Linked DNA regions of Homo sapiens: regions 2, 3, 4 and 5 are each linked to region 1. The links are contacts of gene promoters, found by promoter capture Hi-C in blood cells and fetal thymus (Javierre and others, 2016). All regions are on one chromosome and are shown on one strand. The core of a region is centred on a gene start or on the middle of the fragment in contact, and the rest is flanking DNA. Distances in the headings are between cores, read along the strand shown.

Evidence for each region. The method cuts DNA at HindIII sites, captures the fragments that hold promoters and counts their contacts. A CHiCAGO score of 5 or more calls a contact.
Region 2: a contact is called between a fragment that was not itself captured here and the fragment with the promoter of RMP24 in region 1, in 5 of 17 cell types (naive CD8 T cells, non-activated CD4 T cells, total CD4 T cells and 2 more). The highest score is 7.7, in naive CD8 T cells.
Region 3: the fragment with the promoter of GALNT1 here is called in contact with the fragment with the promoter of RMP24 in region 1 in 4 of 17 cell types (M2 macrophages, naive CD4 T cells, activated CD4 T cells and 1 more); the score reaches 6.8 in M2 macrophages.
Region 4: a fragment that was not itself captured here is called in contact with the fragment with the promoter of RMP24 in region 1 in 1 of 17 cell types (naive CD4 T cells); the score reaches 5.2 in naive CD4 T cells.
Region 5: a fragment that was not itself captured here is called in contact with the fragment with the promoter of RMP24 in region 1 in 1 of 17 cell types (naive B cells); the score reaches 6.0 in naive B cells.

Annotation. Positions count from the first base shown.
Region 1 is chr18:35,969,113-35,975,094 of GRCh38, forward strand. It overlaps RMP24 (ribonuclease MRP subunit p24), which reads left to right and starts at 3,567. Exons shown (of 5, transcript NM_031446.5): 1 at 3,567-3,693; 2 at 3,773-3,795; 3 at 5,784-5,982. The coding sequence starts at 3,617. It overlaps LOC105372066 (a long non-coding RNA gene), which reads right to left and starts at 3,339. Exons shown (of 4, transcript NR_188032.1): 1 at 3,286-3,339. RefSeq lists silencers at 3,054-3,348, 3,288-3,437 and an enhancer at 3,357-4,249. The HindIII fragment of the contact is 7,007 bases long and covers 1-4,104 here.
Region 2 is chr18:35,489,697-35,495,678 of GRCh38, forward strand. The region is part of intron 1 of INO80C (INO80 complex subunit C); the gene reads right to left. Among named protein-coding and RNA genes, the nearest start is that of INO80C, 5.3 kb to the right of the region's middle. RefSeq lists enhancers at 215-935, 1,001-1,662, 1,663-2,324. The HindIII fragment of the contact is 4,983 bases long and covers 935-5,917 here.
Region 3 is chr18:35,578,759-35,584,740 of GRCh38, forward strand. It overlaps GALNT1 (polypeptide N-acetylgalactosaminyltransferase 1), which reads left to right and starts at 2,982. Exons shown (of 12, transcript NM_020474.4): 1 at 2,982-3,104. RefSeq lists a silencer at 2,024-2,723. The HindIII fragment of the contact is 12,017 bases long and covers 1-4,724 here.
Region 4 is chr18:35,609,470-35,615,451 of GRCh38, forward strand. The region is part of intron 1 of GALNT1 (polypeptide N-acetylgalactosaminyltransferase 1); the gene reads left to right. Among named protein-coding and RNA genes, the nearest start is that of MIR3975, 21 kb to the left of the region's middle. The HindIII fragment of the contact is 532 bases long and covers 2,433-2,964 here.
Region 5 is chr18:36,279,048-36,285,029 of GRCh38, forward strand. No RefSeq gene overlaps it. Among named protein-coding and RNA genes, the nearest start is that of FHOD3, 16 kb to the right of the region's middle. The HindIII fragment of the contact is 195 bases long and covers 2,553-2,747 here.

The DNA.
Region 1 (5,982 bases), core at 2,317-4,816:
AGAACTTCTATATGGTGTAGTGGCATTTCTCCTATGCCATGGTGGTGTTGTGAGGATTAAATAAATTAATACACGTTAAGATGCTTAGAAAAGTGCCTGGCACATATACAGTGCTCATTGCATATTATTTTTATTTCAATTCAAATGGAAAAAGACTAGTTTACCTAGCATGGGGCTTTTGTATAACTTACTATCCATTTTGAAAAAATGTCAGATGCTCTTACATTTAAGTGAAAATACATTTCATATCAATTAAATATGTGCATGGAAGAAATCATACTAGAAAAGTATGAGAAAAACATCTGATTAGCCAGGTGCAGTGGCTCACACCTATAATCCCAGCACTTTGGGAGGCCAAGGCAGGTGGATCATGTGGTCAGGAGATAGAGACCATCCCAGCCAACATGATGAAACCCTGTCTCTACTAAAAATACAAAAATTAGCTAGGCATGGTGGTGCATGCCTGTTATCCCAGCTACTCGGGAGGCTGAGGCAGGAGAATCGCTTGAACCAGGGAGTCGGAGGTTGCAGGGAACCAAGATCGCACCACTGCACTCCAGCCTGGCAACAGAGTGAGACTCTGTCTCAAACAAACAAACAAAAAAATCTAATTGAATAGTTAGTTGCCTAACTTTGACAAAGCAGGACTTTTTAGACCACACAGAAAACCCAGATCCAATAATGAAAAGAGTGACTTGTTTGATCACATACAAAATTTTGTAATGTTAAAAAGTTATAAATTATGCCAAAGATAAGGAAGAAGAAAATATTGCATCACATATGACAAGCAGAAAGTGAATTTCACCAAAATAAAAGATCTTCTAAAAACTGATAATCCAACAAGAGATTTCTCTTCATAAGAGAAAATGCAAACCATCAAGGGATAAATGAAAAGAGGATTTGCCTTTCACCTATCTAATTTGACCCAGCCTTCTTAGTCATTGATGCTGGGAATATGAATTGCTACAACCTTTTCTGGATGATCTGGCATATAAAAAATGTGCATATTATTCTACCCAGTAATTTATCTTTTAGGAATTCAGACAAAAGAAATAAAACCACCAGTACTGTATTAACTAGCAAAGCACGAATTTTTTTCCAAATGAACATCAATAGGAAAATAAAATATGGTTATTTATTAAATAAATTAAATTATGTTTCATTACATTTTGTAATATGTTCAGCTATTTAAAAGCATGTACTAACTTGAAAAGATGTCTGTGGCCTGCTGTTAAGGAAAAAAGACAAGTTATACAGTAAGGAACTAACATTTTACTTTTGGTTTTGGTTTTGTGTGTGTGTTTGGTTTGTTTCTTTTTGTTGTGGTCGTGGTAAGTGGTGGGGGGTAGCATATTTATACACGTACTTAAGTGTATAAGGACATAGGTAGAGGAGACACCCAATTATTCATGTTGATCGCCTCAGAGAAGTGGGATGGAAAGGTGGGAAGAGCAGGGAAAATAACTTTTCTTCGGAAAAAGTTAAAATGCCTATAGAGATGTAAATATATACTTTCTCTTTACAAATCTTTATATAATTTAGCCCCCCGCCTCCCGCCTTTTTTTTTTTTTTTTTTTTTTTTAGACGGAGTCTCGCTCTGTCGCCCAGGCTGGAGTGCAGTGGCTGTGATCTCGGTTCACTGCAACCTCCGCCTCCTGGGTTCAAGCGATTCCTGTGCCTCAGCCTCCCAAGTAGCTGGAACTACAGGCGCATGCCGCCACACCTGGCTAAATTTTTGTATTTTAGTAGAGACAGGGTTTCACCGTGTTGCCCAGGCTGGTCGCCGACTCCTGAGATCAGGCAATCCACCCGCTTTGCCCTCCCCAAGTGCTGGAATTACAGGCGTGAGCCACTGCGCCTAGCCAATTTAGCTCCCTTTTAAAATTAAAAATGGGCTGGGCATAGTGTCTCATACCTGTGATCCTAACACTATGGGAGGCTGAGGTGGGAGGATCACTTGAGCCCAGGAGTTCAAGACCAGCCTGGGCAATATAGTGAGACGCCCATCTCTACCAAAATAATAATAATAATAACAACAACAACAACAACAACAACAATACCTACGCATGGTAGTGTGCCTGGTTCCCAGCTACTAGGGAGGCTGAGGCAAGAGAACCCTTTAACCCAGCCCAGGAATTCAAGAATGCAGTGAACTGTGATCACACGACTGCACTCCAGCCTGAGCAACAGAGTGAGATCCCATCTCAGATAAATAAATAAAGCAGGCTAAATAAGGGTCCACTATCCAGAACATACACATTAAAAGAACCTTACAACTTATCAACAAAAAGACAACTCCAATAAAAAATGAGCAAAGAACTTAAACAGCCAAAGATACATAAATTGCCAACAAGCACATGAAAAGCTGCTCAAAAGCATCAGTAGTCAGGGAAATGTTAATCAAAACCACAATGAGATGCTACATCATACTCACTAGGAAGGCTAGATTTAAAAAAAAAAGAAAAAGAAAAGCAAATGTTGGTGAGGATACGGAGAAACTGGAACCCTCATTAAGCACAGAATTACTACATAACCCAGCAGATCTACTCTTAGGTATTATACCCCGAAGAACAGAAAAAAGGCACTCAAACAAATGCATGTACACACATGTTCACAGCGGCATTCATTCATAACAGCCAAAAAGTAGAAACAATTCAAACGTTCAACTGATGAATGGATAAACCATTGTGATACCGCCATACAATGGAATATTATTCAGCCATAACAACGAATGAAGTACTGATACGTGCTGCAAGGTGGATGAACCTGATACATTATGCTAGGTGAAGGAAGCCAGACACAAAAGGTCGTGTGTATGATTCCATTTACATGAAATGCCCAGAATAGGTAAATCCATAGAGACAGAAAGCGGACTGGTGGTTGCCAAGGCCTGGGAGGGAGAGGAGGATTGGCCGTAAGTGCTTCATGGAGTTGGCTGTCCTTCGGCGAAATATTTTGGAAATAGCAGAATGGTGCTTGCACAACATTGTAAATTTACTAAACGCCACTGAATTGTTCACCTTAAAATGGTCAATATTACGTTATGTGAATTTCACTTTAATTACAAAAAGAGAAACGCTAGCGTTTACGCAGGCGGAGGGCAGGCTGGACTGGGGACGCTCCTCCCGGCCGCCTCGTTGCTGGCAGCGCTTCCGCCCGCCGGCGCACCAGTCAGTACCGCGCCCGGCGAATGTGGAGGGCGAAGCTGCGGCAGGGCAATCACAAAAGGGCTGTCAGAGAGGAGGCGAGGCGGGAGGAAGATGGAGAGGCGGGTGGGAGCCTCACCTTTGGACTCTATCGCCACAGCCCGGTCTAGCCGCTACGCCCGAGCTCAAGTCTGACTCGAAACTCCGCTGGGTGCCTGAGAGGACCCGGCAGGCCAAGGGGTGGAACTGAGGGGGCGGGGACGCGGCGGGCGGGTGGGGCCGCCTCCCGGCTGGGCACGCCTCCAAGCCAGACTGGACGCGAAGGAAACCGGAACCTGTCTGCCTACGGTGCCTGTTTCCGGAAGCAGCTTGAGTCCGGACACCAACGACGGGGACGCTGGGAAGCCGACTTCCGGCGCCCTATTTTCTCACCTGGTTCCCGCGGCGAGCCAGCGGCAGCGGCGGCGGCGATGAGACAGAAGCACTACCTTGAGGCTGCAGCGCGGGGACTGCACGACAGCTGCCCGGGCCAAGCCCGCTACCTCCTGTAAGAGGACTGGAGGGGAAGCGGGAGGCGAGCGGGTAGGTGTTCCTTTGCTCCTCACAAGTCTCTTTCTCTTTTACAGCTGGGCCTACACTTCGTCGCACGGTAAGAAGAACGCCTGTCTCTTGTGCTTTGGGCTCTTGTCGCCCCGCTTTCCTCTGTTCCGCACAACGCTCAAATAAGGCCGATGGACTCACTTCCCTCCATAAAAACAACAACAACAAAGCCCGCATGTGTCTCGGTTTCGTGAAAAATCCAAATTCTTTAATGTGCCTTGTCTTGCTTTGTTAGCGGCATTTGACACATTGATCAGTCTTGAAATAGTTTCCTCCCTTGGCTTCTAGGTCATTACGTAGTTCACCTCTTCATTTATTACTTCTCGATTTGCTTTGCTGGTTCCTCCTAATCTCCCCAAGCTTTAAGTATTGTCGTGGCCCAGTACTCAGCCCTTGGACCTCTTTTCTAGGCACACTCGCTTCCTTGGTGACAGTTTTTCATCCAATCTCATGGCTTTTAAATACCATATACTGAGGACTTACAAATGTATATACTCAGCGCAGACCTCTCCTCTGAATTCTAGACTCATATATCCGAATGTCTTCTTGACAAATTCTTTTCAATGTCTAGTAATTCAAACTTAGCTAATATGTCCAAAACCTGAGCTTTAACCCCCAACAAGATCCTCCAGTTTTTCTCATTTCAGTAAATAATTCCATTCTTCCCTTACAGTTATTGAGCCCAAAAACCTTGGAGCTATTCTTGACTCCCTAACTCTCTCTCCTCCCCCAGGCCAGTATGCGAGCAAATCCTGTTGGCTTTAAAATGTAGCCAAAATCAGCCAGGAGCGGTGGCTCACCCCTGTAATCCCAGCACTTTGAGATGCAGAGGCGGGCGGATCATTTGAGGCCAGGAGTTCGAGACCAACCTGGCCAACATGGCGAAACGCTGTCTCTACTAAAAATACAAAAAAATTACCTGGCATGGTGGTGCACGCCTGTAATCCCAGCTACTCGAGAGGGTGAGGCATGAGAATCTCTTGAACCCGGGAGGTGGAGGTTGCAGTGAGCGGAGATGGCGCCATTGCACTCCACTCCTCACCACATCCATTGCTACTACCCTGCTCCAGGCCATCACCAGCTCTCTCCTGGATTAATAAAAGTGAAAGTCCTTTAAAAGGATTGTAAGGCCCTGTGTCATAGACCTGCATACCTCTCTGACGTACTCTTTCCTTCACGCAACTCCAGTCACACTAGGTCTCCTTGCTTTTCTGTTTCAGGGCCTTTGCAGGTACTCTTCACTCTGCCTGGGATTCTTGCCTCACATATCTGCTTTCATGTGAATCCTCCATTTCCCTCTGGTCTCTATAATATCACTCAATGAAGCTTTCCCTAGCCACCTATTTAAAATTACAGTAACTCCATCAATACTTCTATTCCCCCCTCCTATCTTACTTTTTTATTCCCAGCACTTAACATTTGACGTTGTTATATTTATTGTATGCCTCGGTGAATTGTCCTTTGTTCACTGCTGTGTCTCCAGCACTTAGAACAGTGCCTGGCATTCTTAATTGTCACTTAGTGAATATGAATGAGTTTCACATTTGGCAGAGCTAAGTTTAAGTGTGGTCTTTAGCTTTATAAGTGCTGTTGCATCCCTGGCACTTAGCACAGTGCTCAACAGTAGATACTATTCATTGTGCTAATTATTTAAAAAAAGAAACAAAATCGCAGTGCAATTTGTTATTTTGTGGTAAATGCATTGGTAAAATTGGTGAAACATAACAGCCTTTTAAAACTTAGTAGCAAGTAATGAGAAGTGGCTAGATTTAGGATATATTTTAAAGCCTACAGGATTTGCTAGCATAGGTTGGAGATTTGCCTATCTGTTGCTGAAAGGAGTGAATGGATGGAATTGTAGTATTTTGCAAGGTAAATTACTGCCAATTTATCTTTTTGTAAATTTTCATATTTTGAGTTTACTTAATGTGTATCTGCTTATATTAAATTTCAATATACTTTTTATAAATGTTGACAGTTTGAGGTAACAAAATATTCTGATTTGCTGAATTGTGAGTTTCATTTGTATAATTTTAGATGATAAGAGCACTTTTGAAGAAACGTGTCCATACTGTTTCCAGCTGTTGGTTCTGGATAACTCTCGAGTGCGTCTCAAACCCAAAGCCAGGTTGACACCCAAAATACAGAAACTTCTTAATCGAGAAGCGAGAAACTATACACTCAGTTTTAAAGAAGCAAAAATGGTGAAAAAGTTCAAAGACTCCAAAAGTGTATT
Region 2 (5,982 bases), core at 2,176-4,675, 480 kb before region 1:
GATTGGATTCTGAACCAGATAAGGGACAAGAATAAAGTCTGTGTATTAAATATCAGTGTTGTATCAGAGTTAACTTCCTGAATTTGATAAAATTTGGAATGATCTCTCCTCACTACCTTCCCACACTCCTCTCCAGGGCCTCTGCATGTGGGCATCTGGGCCCTCCTCTGTTAACACCCCTCTTCTGTCTGGACTGCCCCTCACTTCATCTTTCCCCCATGCACGGTCTTTCCTAACTGTCCTTATGTAAGAGAATGACTTTGGTTTTAAGAAATTCACACTGAAATATTTAGAGGATTAAAAAAAAAAAATACAGTGACCAAGTGAAGCCTCCCCAAGAGGCACACCCAGCTGCGAATGAGCCAGAGGTCATGACTCCTGGTTCCTGAGAAGGAAGGTGGAGCTGGCATGCAGGGCAGGAAGGGTGACAAGTGATCGCTCTTTCAGGAGGTGGTGGTACAAAGGCAAAGGAGAAAGCCCAGGCCCACTGGAAGGAACATGGGGTGAGCCGGTCCAAGGAGACCCGCCAGCATTAGCAGAAGGAAAGCAACCATTCTCCCAATCATCTAACCATTCATAGAGTGTGCCACAGGACTACTCAATGCCCTGGACTGTCAGGAGACTGGGCCTACGAGTGGCCTAAATTAAATTAGCAGGAGAGATAACCCTGAGAGCTATCCAGTAAGCACCACGTCAAAAGAAAAACAAAACACCCCCACTAGGGACAACTTCAGGTCTAATTCAGGGTAAACAGGCTATGAAAGAGATTTCCTGGGGCCAGATATGCTTTAAGTTTCAACTTTATCGTTTGAGTTTCTCATAAAGAATATGACTACTGATATAATACTGTTGCCATCAGGGAGGAAAAAACCAATCTGAACTGTTAAAGAGCAAAAAGGACACACTAAAGGGAAAGGGAAAATGCAGTCCCCAAAGCTTCCAACAGCGATTACAGAACCATCCACATACCTGCCAGCTCCCAGGGTCCTATCCTCAGGCAGTGGAGTTCGCTTTTTCTTCCACTCCAGAGATGTTCAAAAACTGCATTTCTTTTTTTATTATTTTGTTGTTGTTGTTGAGATAGGGTCTCGCTCTGTCACCCACGCTGCAGTGCAGTGGCACAATCACAGATCACTGCAGCCTCAACCTCCTGGGCTCAAGCCATCTTCTCACCTCAGCCCCCACTCATGAGTAGCTAGGACTACGGGTGCACACTACTATGCCCAGCTAACTTTTGTATTTTTGTAGAGACAAGGTTTCACCATGTTGCCCACAGTGGTCTCGAACTCCTGGACTCAAGTGGTCTGCCCACCTGGGCCTCCCAAAGTGCTGGGATTCCAGGTGTGAGCCACTGCGCCTGGCCAAATACTGTTATTTCTCCTTTTCAGTTTATTCCACTTCCCCAATCCCAGTGAGGAAGCTCAAAGGTGCTGTGTGCCCAATGAAAGGAAAGCAATACAGGGGGATTCTTCTGACATAGGCGTTTAGTTCCAAGGCCCCAGGGAGACAGGGGAGAAAAATGCCAGACAGGGGCCCTCGTTAGATTCAGGCAGACAAGCACGTCTGCTGAGAGTAAGGAGAGGGTGGTAATGAAGAGAGGACCAGAGGTCTAAGTCAGCCATTCCAGGCAGCAAGCTAGAGAAGAGTCAAGAAGAGGATGAAAATGACACACGGAAGCACTGGTTTTTGAAAGGGACCCCTCCTGCCGGCTTGCTCACTCCATCCTCTGCCAGACCCCCGCTGGGAAGTCAGGCTGAAGAGAGGGCAGAGAAAGGAAGCCACCCTGGAGTGAACTGAGCCACATCATACCAGTGCTGCCTCCTGCTTCTGAGATTGTGGCAGGCTCCCTTCCTTCTCTAACCAGAGACACCCCTGCCCCAGGCCAGAGCTGGTTTTATGCTTCACTTTCCTCTCCCCCGACCCCCACATTACTACACCCTTAGCCTAGCTGAGACTCCTGTGTCTACTAACAACAGGATGAGAGGGAGACAGACCTTTAGTCAAAGGGAAGATCAAGTCTGTGAGGCTTGGATGCAATAAGATAAAATTAAAATGATGCATCATTTCCATATTACTAAAGCACTATTATCACTAAGGACTTTACAAGATGAACTGTCCCGCCCCAAGATATGAACACCCTAAGAGGAGAGGAAGGAACGCCTAGCACTAAGGGGCGCCCCCTCTTTGCAGCACTAACAGAGCTGATGTAAGTCTCAGGGAAGAGAAATCCAGCCTGCTACTCAGGAAACACACGCCTATGCTAATAGACTGGAGTTCACAAGGCCTGGGTCTCGCCCTGCTCTGCTCTGCCCAACTGAAGAACCCAAATCAATGGCTTCATCTCTCCAGACAGTAGTGTGCTTGACTCTGAATCAGACTAAAGGATAATTTGGACATTCTGTCTGTGGTTACAAAGAAAGGAGAAAAATATCCTTTGTCTTATTACTGAAAAGTCAAATGTCAAGTTATATCTATGTCATAGAATTATAGATGCAAATAGCTGACCCTGGTCTAAAACTGCAAGGTTACTATAGGGTTACTTAAAACAGCAAAAATTCAAAATGCAACCTCAATATCCAATAATAAAGTCAATTAAATATGAGTAGTTAATTCCTTGGAATATAATGCAGTCAATAGTCATAAAAGACTATTTGACTTTTAAAAGTCTAATTGAGAAGACTATCAACACATAGAAATGTTCACAAAATAATGCTAAGTGAAAAACGGGGCACGTAATACTATATACCAAATATAATGATGAAAAACTGTATCTACATGTAGAAAACACAAATTATAATAGTTGTTGGGGAAGGAGATTGGGTGACTTTTTATGTCAATTTTAAAAATGAAAAAAAAGGTAATTTTAAAAATAGAAAAGAATAACTTTTAAGACTTAAAATTATCAGGATTTGTTGAATTTTTACTTTTGTGTTTTACAAAAGTTGAATAGTAGGATGACTATTTTTTCAATGAATAAACCAAATCAGTCCAGCATTATCTGGCTGCCCCTCCAATTACAGAAGATTCTCTCATTATCTGCCCTATCCTCCTAAAGATGCAACTACTGCCTCTCCACTTTAGATGTTTTATTAGCTGCTTCACAAATGAAGAGGCTATTAAGTAACTCTCAGTCTATAGGTTAATTAGATTTCTCAGTACATTTTATCAACTTTAATACACATTTGAAAAGCCTAAATTACCCTATATTGATTCAGTAAAACTGTTGCCAAAAGCATTTCTCTGTACCATGAATTTGGTTATACCAGAGATCTAATTAATAATCTTCTAATATACAAAGTAACAGAGTGATATCAAGAGAGGCAGTTAAGAAAAAAGAATGTAGACTCTGGACGGCATGCCTGGGTTCGAATCCCGACACTAACACTGTGTGAGCTTGGGCAAGTTACACAGTCTCTCTATGCTCTTGGCGTTTTTATCTGTAAAATGAAGTGATCAATTCACAGAGGGTCGTTTGGAGAATTAAATGACATAGTACTTAGAAAGTACATAGAACAGTGCCTGGCATGTAGTAAATGCTTGATAAATATTAATTACTATTATTTATCCTTATTCCTTTCACTTTAACAGTTATCTGTTCCCCAACCCACCAAAATTAATCCCTTCAAAGTAACAACCAGAGTGAATGGAAGACTGCACTTTCATAACATTATTAATCAACAACTGTTATAGTGAAAATATAAATCCACAGAATTGTGATTCTAAGATGATTTGTACCACCCCTTAGCAAGCATGAACATTAGTAGTAATTTCTGCTGAACTAGAGAGAGCCATCTTGATGAAATGATAAAACAAAGTTGTTTTTGTACTACTAAATTATTTAATAGTATTTCCTAACACTGATGTAAAGAAGGCTTCTATAAATGCTTTTCTCAGAATACTTTTAGCTGAAAAATATTCCCTTCAACTCCTCAGGACTTCTAAGCATCTAAATTTCTAAACTTCTTTAAATTTCAACTAAGCACTCAATTTTACTTTAGAAACAGCAAGCATATTTCAGGAAAGTTAAACCCACCTTAAGAATCCATGATAATTCAAGTTATCTTTAACAATCTCAAAAGGCACTCTAATGTCCTACACGTAAATGTGCTTTGTAAATTTTAAAATTCCATGAAAGTTTTACATACTTTGCCTTTACTTAAGAATCAAAATAGCTAAAATTACTGACGTAGGGAAATTTACGTGATGAAAGACCTATAAAATCTCCTCTAACTCAAGAAATACAATCATTTATAGAAAAACACTCACTTCCCCACTAAGGGAACCTTGGGCAACCTGGGTTAATCTCACAATGAGCACAGCTCTGAACCTGGAATGCCTTCTCCAGCAAACCTCTCCAAGCCAACTTCAAGTCCCTCTGCCTCCCTACCTCTCCTTTGAGTACCATCACCAGCACTGAGGAATCATCCTCCTGTGTCTCACCACAATAGGGCACCAACACCTATAATTACCTATAATTAGCTTTGGCTCAAGGTTAGACATTACTATATCTTCCTAATGGTTTCATTTGTGTGATAGGTAGAATTCCAGTACACCCCTGCTACCTTGCAAGTACTCTGCCCCTGGTGTGCACACAATTTCTCCGAGTTATTCAAGCAGACACTAATCTAGGTGCAGCTACAAAGGGGTTTTGCAGATGTAATTAAGGTCTCAAATCAGCTGACTTTTAAAAAAGGTGATTATCCAAGTAGGCCTGCCTAATCACATAAATCTTTTAAATCTGAGTCCAGGGGTCAGCAATAAAAGAAGTCTGAAATATCTGAAGCATGAGAAGAATTGGACACAAGGGAGATTCTCCATAGCTGGCTCTGAAAATGGAAAACGCCATGTGGCAAGGAACACGGGCAGCAGCTGACAGCCAGCAAGAAGACAGGGGCCCTGCAGTCCTGCCGCCCCAAAAGAACAGAATTCTGCCAACAACCTGAATTCACCTGCATGCAAATTTCTCCCCAGAGCCTTCAGACAAGAACTCGGCTAACACTTTGATTTCAGCTTTGTGATACCCAGAGCAGAGAGTCAACCCAGTTGCATTGTGTCAGGACTTCTGACCTACAGAACCATGAGCTACTAAATGAGTGTTATTTAAGCCACTAAATTTGTGATAATTTGTAATGACAGCAGTAGAAAACTAAACACAATGTATATACGTCATTCTCTCCTGGGATGTTTTTGGTAGTGTGGGGACAAGCTATAATCCTTTGAAATGTCTTAAGCATACTGCTGGGGATGGAACAGAAACAGTACAATAAATTACTGCTACATGAACTGAACTGAAACAGAACAGAAAGGTTGGGCAAGTGACACAGATGAGGGTGACCTCAAGAAGATTCCTGGCAGCCCTCAGGGGTACTGTGCTTATGCCTGCTTATTTCCTATACGCTGTGAAAAGGGAACTAGAATGAAAGGATCACAGCAAGGCAAAAATCTAAGACAACCGGGCACAGTGGCTCATGCCTGTAATCCCTAAACTTTGGGAGGCCAATGTGGGCAGATTGCTTGACCCCAGGAGTTTGAGACGAGCTTGGGTTATGTGGTGAAATTCCACCTCTACCAAAAATACAATGGTGGCATGCACCTGTCGTCCCAGCTACTTGGGAGGCTGAGGTGGGAGGATCCACTGAGCCAGGAGGTCGAGGCTGCAGTGAGCCATGATTGTGCCACTGTCCTCCAGCCTGGGTGACAGAAGAAGACCCTGTCTTCTTTAGTAAATATCAGTTGGGAAAAGGAGAGTCAGGACAAAAGAAGGCACTATTTCATGAAATGCTCTGCCCTTTCCAGCTTCTCCTGAGGCTGCTGCTTGGATACAAAAAAGGCCCAGAGGGAATAGAGAGTTAAGATTTCCACCATATTGGATTACTGGGAATTTCCAGTCTCCTGAAGGCATTTGACCACTTTCAGAAGCTTGTGGTAGTGGAAGTTGATCAACAATCCCTTTGGGGTCAAAACAATTATTCCTACCCATAT
Region 3 (5,982 bases), core at 1,732-4,231, 390 kb before region 1:
CTATTCCTTCTTGGCAAATCTTGACTTTGTTGTAAAGAATCTAGTTTTTTCCTGCTCTCAAATATGCTTACCCTTTTCTACCCCATTTTCTGTTCTGTTAGCAGGTACAGTGAAGACACATTTTGGAATGAATAGGAGTAGACTTGGATTGTTGAAGGGTAAATGTGCTTGGTTATAAAAACAGTTGTGAAAAGTGCATTTGATTACACGGTAGAATTATGTGCAAACAGCACACAATTTTTCATTTGTCTTACAGGTAGTTTTCATTGCAAAGAACTTGTTGCAAGCAGATTAAAAAGGTACTATTTTCCTGCGCTATTTAATGGTACACAGTTATCTTTTTTTTTAATTGCTTTATTGAGGTAATTGCACATACCATAAAATCCACATTTCAAGTGCACAGTTCAGGTAGTTTTCGTAAATCTACAACCATTACCACAATCCAATTTTAGAACATTTATATCACTGCAAAGAGATCTCTTGTGCCCCTTTGCAGTCATTCCCCATATCTACCCCCAGCTCTAGACCACTGATTATCTGTATCGATTTGCCTTTTCTAGATATCTTACATAGTCAATGTGTCACTTAATGACAGGGGTATGTTTTGGGAAATGCATTGTTAGGCAATTCTGTCATTGTGAGAATATCATACAGTATACTCACAAACCTAGATGGTATAGCCTACTACACACCTAGGCTACATGGTACAGCTTATTGCTCCTAGGCTACAGACCTGTACAGCATGGGACTGTACTGAATACCGCAGGCAATTGTTAACACAATGGTATTTGTGTATCTAAACACAGAAAAGGTAACCCATTGCCCAACGACATTATGAAGGCTACCTCACTTGGTGATAGTAACTTTTCAGCTGCATATAATCTTATGGGACCACCATTGTACAGGTGACCCATCATTGACCGGGGCATGGCTGTAAATAGATCCTACAATACAGGCTCTTACACATCTAGCTTCTTCCACTTAGCTTATCGTTTTTGAGGTTCCTCTATGTTGTATCTTCTATGACTACTTCGTTCCTTTTACTGAGTAGTAGTCCACTGTATGGCATATACTGCATTTTATCCACGCAGCAGTTTCTGGACATTTGGACTGTTTCTACTTCTTGGCTATCATGAATAACACTGTTATTAATATTCATGTACAAGTTACTGTATGAATTTATCTTCAGTTCTCTCAGGCATACGCCTAGGAGTGGAATTGTTGGGTGATAGAATACTTCATGTGTAACTTTTTAAAAAACCTGGAAAACTGTTTTCCAAAGTGGCTGCACCATTTTACATTTCCATAGGCAACGTATGAGGGTTCTAATTTCTCCATCTCTTCACCAACACTGCTATTGTCTGTCTGTCTTTTGTACTACAGCCAGTGTAGTGGGTGTCAAGAACTTCCTTGTTGTGCTTCTAATTTGCATTTCCCTATTAACTAATGATGTTGAACACCTTTTTATGTAATTGTTGATCATTTAAATATCTTTGGTAAAACGTCTATTCAATTGTTTTGCCCATTTAAAATTGGACTATTAGTCTTATTACTGAGTTGTAAGAGTTCTTCATACATTCTGGCTACAAGTCCTTTAACAGATATATGATTTGCCAATCTTTTCTCCCAAGATAAGAGTATTTTTTAACGATGACAACTTTATTCCAAAGTGAAGTTTCCTTGTGGAACAGTAACAGGCTAGTCATGATTGACTTTGTTTCAAAATATTATATAAGTACTTTTAAAATAGTAACTTTTAACTTTTATTTTAGAATACTTGGAAGATGTAGACAAGCAAAAACAGGATACTAAAATTCCAGAGATAATCTTCAGGTTTTTTTTTTTTTTTTTCGGACAGCCTTTTGGTTATGTGAGAGGTAATATAAATTTAAAAGTGGGACCACTTAAATATTAAGTAATCTCTTATTGCAGCTCTTGGTTGGCAAGCAATAAGACACAAACCTCTGAATTATTTAAGTAGAAAATTAATTTATTAAAAGAATGGTTGGTTATGCCTCGCGTGAGTGACAGAGCCAGGGTTTTGTCTTCTATCTTCAGGGCAGGGTACAGCTGGGTATTGGAATTGTACCAAGCAGTGTTTCCCAAGGGGGCACAGAGGGAGGGCCCCTCTCCGGGCACTGTGCGGGAGCCACTTCCCCAAACAGTCCCCGTTCTGCAAGGGCCCCGGCGTTGCTGCCCCCGAGACCCGGGTGCCTGCCCCGGCGGTGCGGGTCGCGGGCCTCCGCTCTCGCCGTCCTCCCTCAGTCCCGGGCCTCCTGCATCGCGGTCGCCAGGCGCAGGCTCAGCGCGGCTGACAGCGCTCCAGCTCCCGCGCTCGCGGCCGCCTCAGGCAGCCGACCGGGTTGGGGCGGCCCCGCGCTCGGCCCGGGAGCCGATCCGCTGTGAGGGCTCCTCCATCTCCTCCCACCCCGTGACCTGCTCGACGCGCAACAGCCCGAGTTGTCTTTAACTTGCTGCGGCAGCCTCTTTGTCCCGACCCAGGGTCGGGGGCACCTCTCGGCCTGGCCCGGCCCTGCCCGTAGCCGTGTGAGCGGGGGCCGGGACTGGGCGGTCGGTCCGGGAGGGGCGCCGCGCCCGACCCCGGAGTCCCGAGCCCGAGGGGAGCGTCGCGGCCCCGCGGTGGGCTCGCCGCAGCGGAGGGGGCGCGCATCCGGGTGAGCGCCGGCGCCCCCGCCTCCCCCGCGCAGCCGCACGGGCCGCCGCCGCCGCTGCCGCCGAGCACGCAGCGCAGGGAGGACCGCGCCCGAGCGCCTGCGGGCGCCCTGCGGCGCCCGCCGCGCGACGAGCCCCAAGTGAGCGGGCAGGCGGCGCGCATGCGGGGCGGCCCGGAGTAGCGCCGCCCGAGCCCGCGAGCGGGGCGCCCGGAGTAGCCGCCGACCCGAGCCGGGCGCGGAGGCGGGGGCGGGCGCGGCGGAGCGGGGCCCGGCCGGACCCGCCCGCCCGCCGGGGGAGCCGCCGGCAGTGGCCGAGGAGCGCGCGGCGGACGGCGGCCCGAGAGTAGCGCGCTGGCCGCGGGACCGGCCGCGACCGCCGCGGCCGGCCCGGAGGACGCCTGCCGCCGCCGCCGCCGCGCGCCTAGCGAGGTGAGTGTATCGCCCGCGGCTGGGCAGTCCCGGAGCCGCAGCGCTGCGCGCGGGTCGGAGGTGGAGAAAGAGGCCCCGCCGCGGCCGCGTCCCCGGTCCCTTTGTGGCCGGCGCTGCCTGGGGCCGGGGCGCGGGCACGCTCGGCGCGGGTTCGGGTCTGGGACCCCGGTGCCGTTGGACACGCGGCGTCTCTGGTTGGCAGCTTTGGCGAGCAGCGAGTTTCCGTCCTAGTTTGACATTGAGTTAGAACCGTTTTTCTTTAGAAGACGGAAGTTTGTTTTATTGACAAAAATAAAGCTAAATATGGCTTCTGGGTTCGGCCGTGTGGTACTTGCAACCGCGGTGCCAGCCTGACCCTCGCGGCGCCACGGGGGAGGGGAAGACACGCCGGCAGCGGGGGAGGGGGCTTCCCGGCCCGCTGCCCCCGAGGAGGACCCGGACCTAAATTAGCAAATGTTTGTGGTTGGGAAGTAGCGGGCTTTAGGTAATGTAGTAGCTTTTCCGCTTTTCCTGGAAGAATGAATGAATGAGATGTCATTTACTCATCCATAATCAATACGTTGCCCATTTAAGCATTTACCAGGAATTGGGATGATTTGCATTGTCATTGCTTCTCTTATCTGGTCAGCCTTGCTAGATGAGGTTCCCTTACTCCCCAGATTTGTGACCTTGTCCTCATTCTCAAAGCCACTGAGCTAACCAACCCGTCTACCAAACTCACTTGGCATTTTTTTGGTCAAGTGGGCAATAGGCAAAGTAGTCTTTCTGAACTGTTTCTGGAGGGCAGAGAATGTCACTTTGATCATATCTTATGTTTAATACATTGCTTTATAATCGTGTCAAGAACGCTGAGAGTTAGGAGGTCTTGTCATTTCACAGATGAAATAGTGAAGGCCCTAAGAAGTTGCAACTTTTCAGGTCACAATCTGAGCAGCAGAGTTGGGATTCAAACCTAGACCTTGTTAGTCCAGTCCTCTTTACATCACATCTGTGTCCAGACCTGGACTGTCCAGCGTGGGAGCCACTAACCACATGTGACTATTAAAATTAAATTTTAAAAATTCAGCTCCTCGGTCACAGTAGCCACATTTCAAGTGTTCCATAGCTAAATGTGGTTCTTTGCTACAGTTGAACAGCCCTGGTCTAAATTATACATACATTTGTTGTGTCAGTAAATATTTACTGAATGCGATCTGTCTATGAGGCACAGTTTTAAGTTCTGGGTACATGGTGAATAAGGGAGACACAATGTCCTTGCCCTATTGGAATTGACATTTTACATGATCCTTTGAGGATGTTTCCATGGTACTCCGAGTCCTGCTATTCCAAGTGTGGATGGTGTACCAGCAGCATCCCTGTCACCTCAGACTCAAGTAATGCAGAATGTGAAGCCCCGCTGCACATCAACTGAATCAGTATCTGCTTTACCAGGATTTCAAGTTATTTGTGTGCACTTTGAAACCTGAGAAGCCTTTGTTCAGCGTGCTGGTGATAACTGCGTTTAATGACTGCTCTGCTGGTTTGTTTGGTGCCTCTTAAGCAGCAGACTGCAAAACTCTTGGGAGCACTCACCATTTATGCAAATACTTGTTAAATGCCTGGCTTTCTCAATAGAGTTTAAGCTTTATGAGAGCAGAGATTGTGGCTTCCTTTTCCAGCCATGTATCACTGAAGACTTTACAGTGCCTGGTAAGCAATAAGCACTTGGTATAAATGCTTGTTGGATAAACGAATGAGTGTGCTAGGATACTTAAGCGTGGTTGTTAGCTGGGTGTGGTGGCATGCGTCTGTAGTCCTAGCTATTCCAGAGTGACAGCGCGAGACCCTGTCTCAAAAAACTGAAAACCCAACAACAACAAAACTGATTGTTAATCCCAAGCAGTTACAGGCAAGGTAATTCTCATGACATCAGGTGAGAGAGCATGGGACCAGAGTCAAAATGAAGATAGATCTGTTTGTAACTTTCAGTGGGACGCTCCAGCTACTCTGACTGGAGTTTTGCTCCTGGCTCACTTGCATGCCCTATCCCTCTTTTAACTAATATAATAATAATTTTGAATCTGAATCACACATTAGTGCTTCATATAGTTTTTAAAAAATTTTGTATTTTTTTAGGTAGCTAAATTCCAGACATTATTTGGATTTCACCAGTTTTTCCGTTAATATCTTCTTTCTGTTCCAGAATCCAGTCCAGTGTACTACATTGTATTTTGACATCATGTTTCTTTAATATTTGGTTTGTGATAGTTTCTGTCTTGTCTGGTTTTCCATAACTTTGGTAGTTTTGAGGAATACTGTCCTGGCTTTCTTTGATGGACAGCTTTCCATACTCATTCTCATGAAAGGTCACAATCAGGTTGACGCTGTTTCTGCTTTTACTTATTTATTTATGTAATACATCTGTCATGCTTATGTAACATACAACTTTGGTACTTTTTTTTCAGTAACAGATTTCTTGGATACAGTTCCTAATTGGTTGAGATGCAGAAGAGTGTTATACCATTGCAGTTATATACCAAGTTTTATTTTTTGATGGGTTAAGAGCTGGGCTGAGGTAGAGGAGGAAGGAAAGAGGAGAGATCAGTTAAAAGAGGCAGTTAGGCAAAGAGGGACCAAGGCAAAGGGAGTGACAGATAATGGAGGAAGAGGAGTGCGGCAACTTCGTAGAAGAGAGTTAGGAGTGACTACTTACTGTTTGTTCATTTATTCAATTAATATTTATTGACTCAGCAGTCCCAGTCTCTCTGGCACCAGGGACCAGTTTTGTGGAAGACAGTTTTTCCGTGGACCAGGTTGGGGGCCAGGGGAATGGTTTCGGGATGAAACCGTTACACCTCAGATCATCAGGCATTAGATTCTCATAAGTCTTGTGCAACCT
Region 4 (5,982 bases), core at 1,449-3,948, 360 kb before region 1:
TTGCTGCCCTTGAGCCTCTTCTGTGTGTGCTGTCATAGTATGTGTTAAATGTAGGAATTGAAAGCACTGCTATGCATGATAGTTTACTTAGATTAATTGTAGCTCTAAATTTTGTGTTTTAATTCTTCACTGTCTTGGCATCATAGATGTTGGACAGTCCAAAAAAAGGAAGTTTTCCTATAAGATAATTATTTTTTAATGGAGGATGGGCACAACATTTCATCAGAAGCATTTGGGAGAAAACAGTGACCAGGAGACAGAGTGGATTTTTAAAAAATATTGATTGTAATCAACTGCCCACTCTTTGCTTAGTATTAATACCCTTAGATTCTTTACATTGAAGACATAGGTTTTAACACTGACATCCCAAATAATAATTAATGTTTTTACTATTTAAAAATGAAGTTAATCCCTAGGATTTGGTTGTTCTTCAGTATACATTTGATCCTTTTAGATCGAGGTTGAAAATAGTTCTGAAAGTCATTTTTTGAGATGAATGGAACACAGATCATTTCAATTTTTTAATTTTTATTATGCCTGGAACCATGAAGATACACTTTTATGGATCACAGAGTGTTCAAATTTCAAGGAATAGAACAGCTATATAATTTGTGAGGCCATTTTAGACAGAGAAAGCAACACCTGTGCAGACATGGAAGCCAGAGAAAGCATGACGTAATTGGGCAGCTGGGAGTGGTTGGATGTGAATGAAGAGCAGGGCATGGGAAAGAGGTGCAGAGTGGAACCAGGGTGTGGTCTCTGCCTAGAAGGCCCTTCTGCAGGATCTTCCTGTGTCTGGCTCCCTGCTCTTCCAGGCTGCTTCTCATTGCCCTGCCTCAGAGAAGCCGTTCCTGATCACCTAGGATAAAGTAGCCACCCAGTCACTTGCTAACAAGCCAACTCCTCTTTTTGTTTGTTTATGGAGCGTTCCTTACTGGCTGTCACTTTTTGTTTATTGTCTGTGTCCTAGTGCTTTACTATAGTTCCATGAGAGCAGGGACCTTGTCTGTCCTGTTTATTGCTGTAGATCTAGAGCCCAGCATAAAACTGGCATTTAATAAATGTTTGTGATGGGAATATAAGTGGATTTTTTTATTATGGATTTTGAATTTTCTTCTGTGAGTTAATTGTTCTTAATCCAGTAGTTCTCTAAACCCTTTTACACTTTTAGAAATTACTGAAGACCCCGAAGAGTTTGTTTTGTGGGTTCATATGTATTGATATTTACCAAATTAAAGATAACCTAGACATTTAAAAATAATTTATTTAAAATAATAGACTTGTGATATGTTAATATAAACATTTTTATGAAAAATAACTTTTCCAAAACAAAAAAAGTGAGAAGTGTGGCATTATCTGACATTTGTGTAAATCCCATTAGTGTCTGGCTTCTCATAGCTGGATTCTCATACCCTCTTTTTTCCATTCAGTCTATTGATACTGCATATCATGTAGCCTCTGGACCTCAGCCACATGCTTAGGAGGGAATGACAGTAAACAGGCAAATGGTGACTTGGCATAGTATAAAAATAGTCTTGACCTTGCAGACCCCTTGAAAGGGTCTTGATGACCCCTTGAGTTGGATAGGGTGGGGGTCTTTGTACTACATTTTCAGAACTGCTGCTGTAGGTGGATGATTTTCAAACTTTTTAGTAGCAGGAGTATATTTTCAAATATCTCCTAACAAGTTCCAATGCATAGAAAAGATAAAGGTGGAGCTGTTTTGGTTAAAGTGCATATGTGGTGGGAATACGGATTCGGGAGCAGGGGAAGGTCCCTGGAGCCATGCTTTCACTTTTTTTCTCATTTTTTGGCTGAGCTACTAAATTGGCCAAGGGATTGATACCTCTAAGGCAGGAATACTGTGTGAGAGAAAGTGAGGCAGTTGAACATACTGCAGAGACTTTCCACCCTGTGCCATAGTTTAACTTTCAGGTATTTTATTTAATAGCTTTTTAATATTTTATATAAGTCAGTAAGAAAATTTGCTATAATTTGCAGCAACCTTAGAGAAATATTTATGTAATCGAATGTTATCTAACTCAGGTTTTTAAAAGACAATTTGCTCTCTTTATACATCTGAGAGTATGTAAAATAAAATTCAATCAAGGTCCAATATGTAATCAGACAAAAGTAAGGATGTGGAGGAAGTTTAATATTGGGAATTGGTAATCTAATTGTATGTGCCAAATGCAGGAGGAATTCTCATGGTCTTGAGAGTGGAGGGAATGGCAGCTGGCCAGAGGCTGCCTAGAGCTTGGACCCTGTGTTAGGCAGCACCACCACCAGCTAATGGTAATACGTTGTTGTGGTAAATGCAGTGTTTGACTGCCTTGGGAAACATTCTTAACTCAGTCTGTTTTGTTTCTGTGTAAAACTGTTTCTAATCTTTTTTGTCTTGAAAAAAGGATCCTGACAAAAGTTTCCCACAAAGCTTCTGTTTTTACACAAAAATCCTGTCTCTAAATTTGTAGGCCTTGCCCTTTGGGAGTTTTATCTGACAGGCAATATAAAGTGTCCTCATTACCATCATTATTTATTACCTGTATCATTAAAAAAGACATCATTTATTATATGTAATTATATCACAGTGTTTATATAAAATATGAGCTCTAGCTTTGTTGTCTACATTTTAAGAGAAGGAAAAATTGAGAGATAAAGGGAAAAGTAATGAAAATAATTATAAGGCTGCAAAATACTGTCTTAGGTTTGGATTTAAATATTTTTAAGATGTGATTTAATAACTTCACACATGATTCTTATGAAAAGAGAAAAAACCTGTTTTAATGAGTTAAAAATAGGGTACATCTCCATGAAAGATAGAAGGAGATATAATTGGACAATTTGCCTTCTGGATTAGGTTTAAAATTCAAAAGAACTGCCTAATAGTGATACTAATTAAATTCTAATTATCTTTAGAAATGTGAAAGATAAGTCTGCTAATTTAACCATTTTTTCAGTAAAAGCTTCACTCTAAGCCTATCGTGTTTATTTTTATATTTGTTTAATTTTTTTGAACAAATAGCATCATAAATTTTTTAGCATTTCCAATTAATATTAAAGTGTGCCCCAATTTCTTTGAAGTAGATGGAGTCATGTAGTATTAACCTTTCTAGGCCGGGCGTGGTGCTCACGCCTGTAATCCCAGCACTTTGGGAGGCCAAGGCATGGATCACCAGATGTCAGGCATTCAAGACCAGCCTGGCCAACGTGATGAAACTCTGTCTTTGCTAAAAATACAAAAAATTAGCTGGGCATGGTGGCAGGTGCCTGTAATCCCAGCTCCTCGAGAGGCTGAGGCAGGAGAATTGCTTGAACCCAGGAGGTGGAGGTTGCAGTGAGCTAATATCGCACCATTGCACTCCAGCCTGGGCAACAAGAATGAAACTCTGTCTCAAAAAAAAAAAAATCCGTAGGCAGCTCTCCATCATACCTCACACCAGGAGAGGAGGAAAGTACCCATAGTTTCTTAAAATTTTATGTTTAAAAAAATTAATCAGTGGTATGTTATAGGGAAGTAAGAAATGTTTTAGTAATAGCTACCTTGTTTAAGATCGCAGCTCCTCTCCACCAGGCACTCATGGTCCTCCCTACCTGACTACTCAATTTTTCTTTCTTTCCATTGCAATACCTTCTGTGCTATAATCTAGTTTACTTATGTTTATTATTTCCTGTCTCCTACTCTGCTCCTACAGAAGTGCTTTGAATGCATTGATCTTTGTTTAGTTTACTGATACGTACTGAGTGCCTAGAATATATTTGTTAATTCAATGAATTGCTTTTCCTTTGGCTTCTAGAAGTGGATGTACATTTCTTTTGGGGAAAAATACTCAGCAGACTATTCAAAACTTTAAGAGGCTTCTGTTTCTGGCAGCGTGGCAGAGTAGAGGTTAAAAAAAAGGTCCCACATTATGAAATGTTAAAAATACTGGACTTAATATTCAAAATATCTTTTAAATGCATCGTTGAGCTGACAAGAGGTAAGGAAACTTTCCAGAGGCCCAGAACAAGAAATCTTGAATCCAGGGAGGTAAGTTAGTAGTGATACTGGCTCCCGTGCTGAGGGTTCTGGTATTTGTAAGTCCTTCAAAACCCAGAACTTTGGCTTTTGCAGGGTGGCCATAGGGTACCAGACGGTGTCTAGGGATCAAGCAGTTGCTAAGTAAGATCCAGAGACCTTTGTGTAAAGCTGAAGCTCCCTGAAAGCTGTCAGTGGGTTTAACTAGGAAAAAGCAAAAAACCTATCCCTCAGTGGTTGGAAAAGTATAGGGTAGGGAGCATAGGAACAAGGTTGCCTGTTTCAGCTTTTCACTGGAAGGGTAAAATAACCTTCCCCGAAAAATTATAACTGCAGTTCCACTCTAACTGGATTTGGGGTTGAAGTTCATACTACCTTAATGGTGGGGGAAAAAAAAACAACCAAGCCAAGAATTTAGTGAAAAGTAGTCTCAGTCTCAGGACTGAGAATCAAATGAAATCCTCACTGGAGAAATACAGGAACACAGGCCTCAGAGAATTGACACAGGTAAAGTTTCTTCCTAGAAATGCATTCACAATTTAAAAAACCAAAAACACTTTATATAAACCATGAGTTAATCAGCAGAGCAAGGAGACCGTGTAATCAGGCATTCAAACATTGCAGATATTGTAGTTGTCAGATATGTAATATAAGATAAATGCTTAATATGTTTAGAGAGTATAAAATACGGCTAAAGAGCAAAAGACTATCAAAAATAATTAGGCAAGTTGAATTCAGCAGTGTATAAAGGAAATACTGGATATTGAACAAAGGGTTTATTCCAGGAAGGCGAGCTTGGTTCTGCATTAGAAGGACTATTAATGTAATTATCGACACAAGCAGTTTAAAGTTAAAAAAACCATATCATCCTAAAATATACAGAAAAAGAATTTATTAAAATTCATCTCTCTTTTATGGTAAAAACTCATAACAAACTAAGAACAGAAGGGAAATTCTGTAACCTGACAAAGGGCATCTGTGAAAAACCTACAGCAAACATAGTATTTGATAGAGAAACATTAATGGTATTCCTTTGAAAAACAGCAGCGATATAAAGATGCCCACTGTTACCCTGCCTCTTCACAATTGCACTGGAGATATGAGTTAGTGCAGTAAAGCAACAAAGAGCTACAGGGCTATGAGGAATGAACAGAATGGTCATTCCTTAGAGTGAATATAAGTACCTTCATAGAAAATTCAGGAGTTTATTAAGTTGCGAATATATGATTGATATAGTAAAATTTAAGGACTAACATCCAGAATCTGCAAGGAATGCCAATTAATCAACAAGAAGATCATTATGGTAAAGTCAGTTCTATTACTCTAAACTAGCAGCATACAATAATAAATGTAATAAAAATATTTCTCAATAGTAAAAAAAATAAAAAGCCACCTAGGAATAAATAGAAAAAGAGAGGGCAAGATCTTTAAATAGAAAGGTATAGAAATATATCGAAGGACATTAAGAAGACCTAAATAAATGTGACGACATACCATGTTCATAGAAAGAAGGTTTCCTATAAACGTATCAATTAATCTGTCTTTAATATATGAATTTATTGCTATTAAAAAAAACACCCAGCAGGGTATGGTTTTGTTTGTTTTTGTGGAATTTGACCAGTTAATTCTAAAATTTATTTGGAAATACAAAGGGTCAAGAATGGCTAAGACATTCCTGAAGCAAGTACTTGTCTTACAAGATTTTAAGATAGTGTAAAACTTTAATCATTGAGATGGCATAATATTTGGACAAGCATAGACAAATAGATAATGGAAGGAAGTTAAGGCAAAAACCAGAACTCTAAGTACGTGGAAAGCTAATACATGACAGAGCTAATGTTACAAATCAAGGAAATGGAATACGTTTTAAATGGTTGGGATTCTTAGCCACATTTTAAAAAATGGTTTTTACTAACACTGTATTAAAAAAAGCAATTTCAGATGGATTAAAGACTAGATTGTGA
Region 5 (5,982 bases), core at 1,400-3,899, 310 kb after region 1:
TACAAATCTTCAACGGTTGGATCACACTTTAGGACGAAATAGGACTGAATGAAGTGGACAGCAAATGCTGACTTGCCCCTGACACCTCTTTCAATCTCTTGTCCATATCCTTGGAATGTTGCTAAGCCCACACTAGCCCACAAAACCCCAATCCCTAGGTCCAGCTCCAGATGTCTGCCTGGCAGGCTGATAGAGAGTAATCAGGTGAGCCTCCAAAAGGGCGAGTTCACTTAGGGGTACCACTGCACCAGAGGCTGGTCAGGGTTCTTTGAGGGATAGAGATGTGTGGTATCTGGCTGGAACATGTGGTAGCTAGTGAGGGGCTCTCTCCTCAGCACCTGCTCCCTCTTAATATCTTTGGATTTAACTTACTGTTGTTTTTGTTGTTGTTGTTTTACTAACTTATTGGAATGAATGCTTAATTAATTTATTCTCCTTTTTTCCTAATATATTCTTACAAGCCTATAGATTTTCTTTTAAGTACTATTTTGGCTTCATCTCAGATTTTGATACATAGTATTGTTGTTACCATTCTGATAAAAATGTTTTCCAATATTTCATTGTGATTTTGTTTTTTATACACAGGTTATTTAAAAGTGTGTTTTTATTCATTTCCAAACATATGGGGTTTCTCTAGGTTATTTTTGGTTGATTTCTAGCTCAGTGGCATTATAGTCAGAATACACACTTTGTATGATTTCAATCGTTGAAATTTGTTGAAACTTGCTTTATGGCCCTGTCCAAAAAAAAATGGTTCATGGTTTACAGTCATCATAAAAATGGTCAATTTTTATAGATACTCTATGTGCTTGAAAAGCATGTGTATTGTGTAGATATCTTTGCTTTCTTCCTGATTTTAGGAATAAGCCTTTCAATCTTTCACCATTTTGTATAATTTAGCTATAAGGTTTTTGTAGGTGCATTTTATGAGGTTGAGAAAGTTGCTTTCTTATTCCTAGGCTGCTGATAACTTTTATTATGGGGGCATTTGAAGTTTGTTAAATGGTTTTACTGTATCAATTGATATGATCATGTGATTTTTCTTCTGTGGTTATTATGGTGGACTATATTGATTGGTTTCCAAATATTGAAATAGTCTTGCTATTCCTGGATAAACTCCATTGATCCTGATATTTTATTTTTTTCATATATTCCTGGGTTTGATTGCTAATATTTTGTTGAGGATCTAAGCTCATGAGGGATACTGGTCTGTAATTTTCTTTTCTTGCACTGTCTTTGTCTGGTTGCCAGAATCTCTGAATACAATGTGTATTTGTCTTATTAATATTTTTCTTTCTGCTGCATCAGTTTTTGCTTCATGTATTTTGGAGCTATGTTATTTGGTGCATTTCCCCTAAGATTGCTATGCCTTCGTGATGGACTTATTCCTTTATTGATGTGTAATATTCTTTGTCCTTAGAAATTTTCTTTGCTCTGCAGTCCAATTTATCTAATATTCATATAGCCATTTCTGAGGATTATAAGCTCCTATCACTTATGAACATAAATTCAGAAATTCTTTAAAAAGTAGCAAACTTTGTTCAGTAATATCTGCAAAGATGATATATTATGACCATGTTGTATTAATTTCAAGGATGCCGAGGTTTACTTTTAGAAAATAAGAGATTAAAGGAGCAAGTCAAATTGTCTCAGTAAATGAAGAGAACAATTTTGATAGAAATTCCACATTCACTTGTAATTAAACACACCTTTTAGCAAGCAGAAGAAATATTAGTGTAAATAATACTAACTGCTCTAACAAGCAAAGCAAAAATCTCCATGGCTTACTGGTGGTAGTGATGGAGGCAGTGAGCATGGCGGTACGATCTGTGGTGCGATGCCTGGCAGAGCCTTTAGTGGTGTCTACTTTAGAGTAGCTATGCAATCTCCAAAACTGATTCTTTGGCTCTCTGGGGAGTCTGCGAGCTACACAATATCCTTTATTACACCTATTTTCTGCTTAGTCTTGTGAGAATTAGTTTCTATTGTTTCCAACTAAGAATTCTGACGGATAGAAAATGTGGTGCCTGATGTGTACCACATCAGTGAATAGTAAGGACTCAAATATTTCAAATTGGAAGGTTGATAACCTTTATTATATTGCGGCAAAATATTTATCAATCTGTTGCCTGTTGTCTTTTGAGACATTGACCATATGCCAACCGTATGGCATATGTTAGAAGACATACGGAAAAAAATCACATTGATGGGGCTCCTTTTTGCAGAGTTCAGCAAAGTTCTAAGGAAGATAAATAAACTCAGGCTAGGAGAGAACCACATCAAGGTCATGGCCATCACATAATTAGCTAAGAACTCTGAAATAAGGTACACTTTTGGGTTTCTAGAAAGTTTTAAATGTGTAGTACCATAAAAGCTTGATGTGCCCAATTCTTGTCAATATTTCCTCATCAGAATTGTTGTGTGATTTTTAATACATAGAGTTGACCAAAATAAAAACCTTCCATTTAGTTTTGAAAGATCTGTATTAGCAAAAGCGCCACCAGTCTGGACTAAAAGGGACTGACTATTCAAGATATAAAAAAAAACTTCTAAGCTTCAGACTTCATATGGAAAGAAAGAAAAAAGATAAGGCTATTCAGCCACCAAAAAGTGCACATTCTCCAAAGTGCCCTTTTCAGACGGGCACTTCAGAAGGACATAACCCAAGGAGTGTTATGGAGAAGAAAAGACCTTTCAGAGGATGGATCCAAGAGTCACCGAGAGCAATGAACTGATGCAGAAATGTAAGCTTATTGTGGGAAAAGTAGAAATAGAGATGAGCAAAAAGAAATACCCTCTCATCCTACCACCCTATCAGAGACACAGTTAACCTTGAATGATTTGGTGTATAGGTTTCCAGACTTTCCCCCGTGCCACCAATAACTCGTGCCCTTCTGTGTAGCTTCTCTTAGTGCTCTTGTGACTCTGTTCTTTGCATTGATGGAAAAGCCATATGTGGTGGCTCTCCAGGATTCTTGAAAAAAGCTCAGCCCTGGCCTTTCCAGACAGCTCGTTGGGAGTTTAGAACACCCTTTTGTCATCCCTTTGAGATCTTGGCTGGATGCCACCCTGGGCTCCTCTCTGGCTCACTACCCTCCTCTCCTGGCCTTCTTCACCAGCTTTGGTTAATGAAACTTGATGGATCATAGTGCCGAGCACTGTGCTTCGTGCTGGGGGCACAAAGATGCATTTTACATAGTCCCTGCTCTTAAGGAGCTGAGTGAGGATCTAGTGGGTGGAACCAATGTATAAGCAGAAACCATTAAAATAATCTAGTCACTAATTTCAACAGTTCCCATGAGGGAAGCATTTAAAAATGATTTCACACGCAGAGTTTGGTCCCCAATTTTAGAAAAAACTTATAAATCCTGTTAAAACATGGCTTCAGCTAAGAAGTCCCAATGAATTTTAAATGTTTATTTAACATTTAAAGCAGCAGATTTACGAGAAATCTATTCAAAATGTTGAATTTATAGTAGTTGTACCCTTTCCACATGTTTTGCTTATAGCTCAAATTAGCCTTTTTAAAAAACACAGTTGCTTAATGATGCTGAATTAATCATTCACTCAGCAATAATTAATTCTTACCAGTGGAAGCACGATGACTTTTCTCATAAAACATGGAGAAAAACAACTCATTTAGTGACTTAGTGACAAAGTAGTATGTTGGAATTTTGATTGCAGTAACTGAAGATGAGTAGGGTTATTGAGATCATACTTTTTTGCACATTAAAAACTATTTCTTATTAAAGAAATTTATTAATAAAAATAACATTTATTTTCTACTTGTGAATGTATATAGAGTCATGCACTTTTATTTTATTTAATTCTCACAAAAACCCTAAGGGTAGGTATTTATACCTACATTTTCCAAATGAGGAAACTGAGGCTTAGAGGGATTAATTGACCCAATCAAGATCAGAGGACGACTTATACAGAGCAAGGATAAGATTTGAACCTAGGTCTGCCTTTTCACCATTGTGATAAACTGCTGAATAATGATCATTGTGGGCACCATTGTAAGCACTTCACAGGTATTAAATTACTTAATCCTCTCTAACAAGTTTATGAGAAATCTATGACTATTACCATCTCCATTTTAGAAATGAGGGAAGAGAGGCACGGAGAGAGTAAGTCACTTGCCCTAGGACCCTGAGCTCGTAAGTAGTGGGGCTAGGTTTTGAACCCAGGCCTCTAACTCAGGCATCCATTTTTTTGCTCACCTCACTCAAGGAAAGCCATTATTGTTTATTAAACAAATTGCTTTTTGATACACATAAAATATTGTAAAAATAAGCATTAGCAAGTGATTTGTTCATGAGCTGTGATGGCCACTGTGTGCCTCCCATTGCACTGGATGGTGATTGTGAGAAAAGAAAAGACCACAGTTCTTTTTTATAGAACAGCATCTCACTCTATCACCCAGGCTGGAGTGCAGTGGCATGATCATAGCTCACTGTAACCTCAAACCCCTTGCTCAAGTCATCCTCCCGCCCCAGCCTCCCAAAACACTGGGATTACAGGCTTAAGCCATGGGCACGGTCCCACAGTTCTCGTGTTCAGTGAGCTAGATGGCTCTTATCAGATGATCACAAGGACAATGGCGCTTTCAGGGAGGTTCGGGAGCCAGGTGTACATCTAGCAGGGACCAGGTTGGCCTGTGAGATTGAAAGGGAAGTCCCACAGATGGTCAGAGTGCCATCTCCTTGGGATGACAGAAAGCTGTCCATGAACTGGGTTCAGTGGCTCATGCCTGTAATCCCCACACTTTGGGAGCCCAAGGTGGGTGGATCACGAGGTCAGAAGATTGAGACCATCCTGGCCAACATGGTGAGACCCTGTCTCTACTAAAAATACAAAAAAATTAGCTGGGCATGGTGGCGGGCGCCTGTAATCTCAGCTACTCAGGAGGCTGAGGCAGGAGAATCACTTGAACCCGGGAGGCGGAGTTTGCAGTGAGCTGAGATCATGCCACTGCACTCTAGCCTGGGTGACAGCAAGAGACTCCATCTCAAAAAAAAAAAGAATGCTGTCCATACAGAAGCTGCCATGTCCGTTTCCACCAACAACTACCTCTGGCCTCCAGGGCCTTCAGCAAGGGAAGAGAGGAAAAGGCATTTGGAGTGTGCCACAACCTTTCAACTGCGATGAGAGACGCTAGGCACTGGAAGGCTGGCTCCAGTGATGGCATTTGTTCTTTGGAGTGACCCTCTGATCAGAAGAAGCCCTCTGGACCAACTGTGTCCCATCCTTCTCAGCTCTTTTTTATCCGAGAGGGAGGGGTAAGCTACTGAGGACAGCACAGGCTACAGGGATCCAGCGGATCCAGAGATCCACTGCTAGAACCGAATGCTGGCTAGTGCTTGAAGAGGATGCTGATACAACAAGCCATCCAAGGACACTGAAAGCAGCAGAAACCTTCACTGGGCAGGCAGTGTTCCCAGCACCTCGGATCTCCAAGAAAGGCTGAGGCTCTTCTTGCCAAGGGAAGAGTTCAGGACATCCTTGGAAGCAGAAGGAAAGCTAGGATCCATCCACCTGGCAGGCACCTTCAGCCTGTCTTTCCTTTTTGTTTTTAGTCTTTTCCCTATTCTCTTGTTTGTGCAGACAGAATTAACTTCTACATAACTCACTTTGCAAATCTCCAAATAAAAATCATGGAAAACATCATACTATATGAGCAAGTGATTGAACATCTCTAAGTCTTACTATGTCTCATCTGAAAAGCGAGGAAAACCACAGGATCTATCTTATAGAATCGAGATCAAATGAGCCAGTTTGTATTTTAGCTCAGTGCCTCAAAATAATTATGCCTGAGTAATCCAAGTCTACCACCTGCTGGCAGCATTAGGTAAGTGCAGAATTTGTTTCTTCAAGAGGCTAAAAACTGGTGCAAATTGGGTCAGCAAATCCTAAAGAGAAGAATGGCAAACATGATCACACCTCTGACCCTCTGCCTGGGTTACTGAATGGACCAGATTT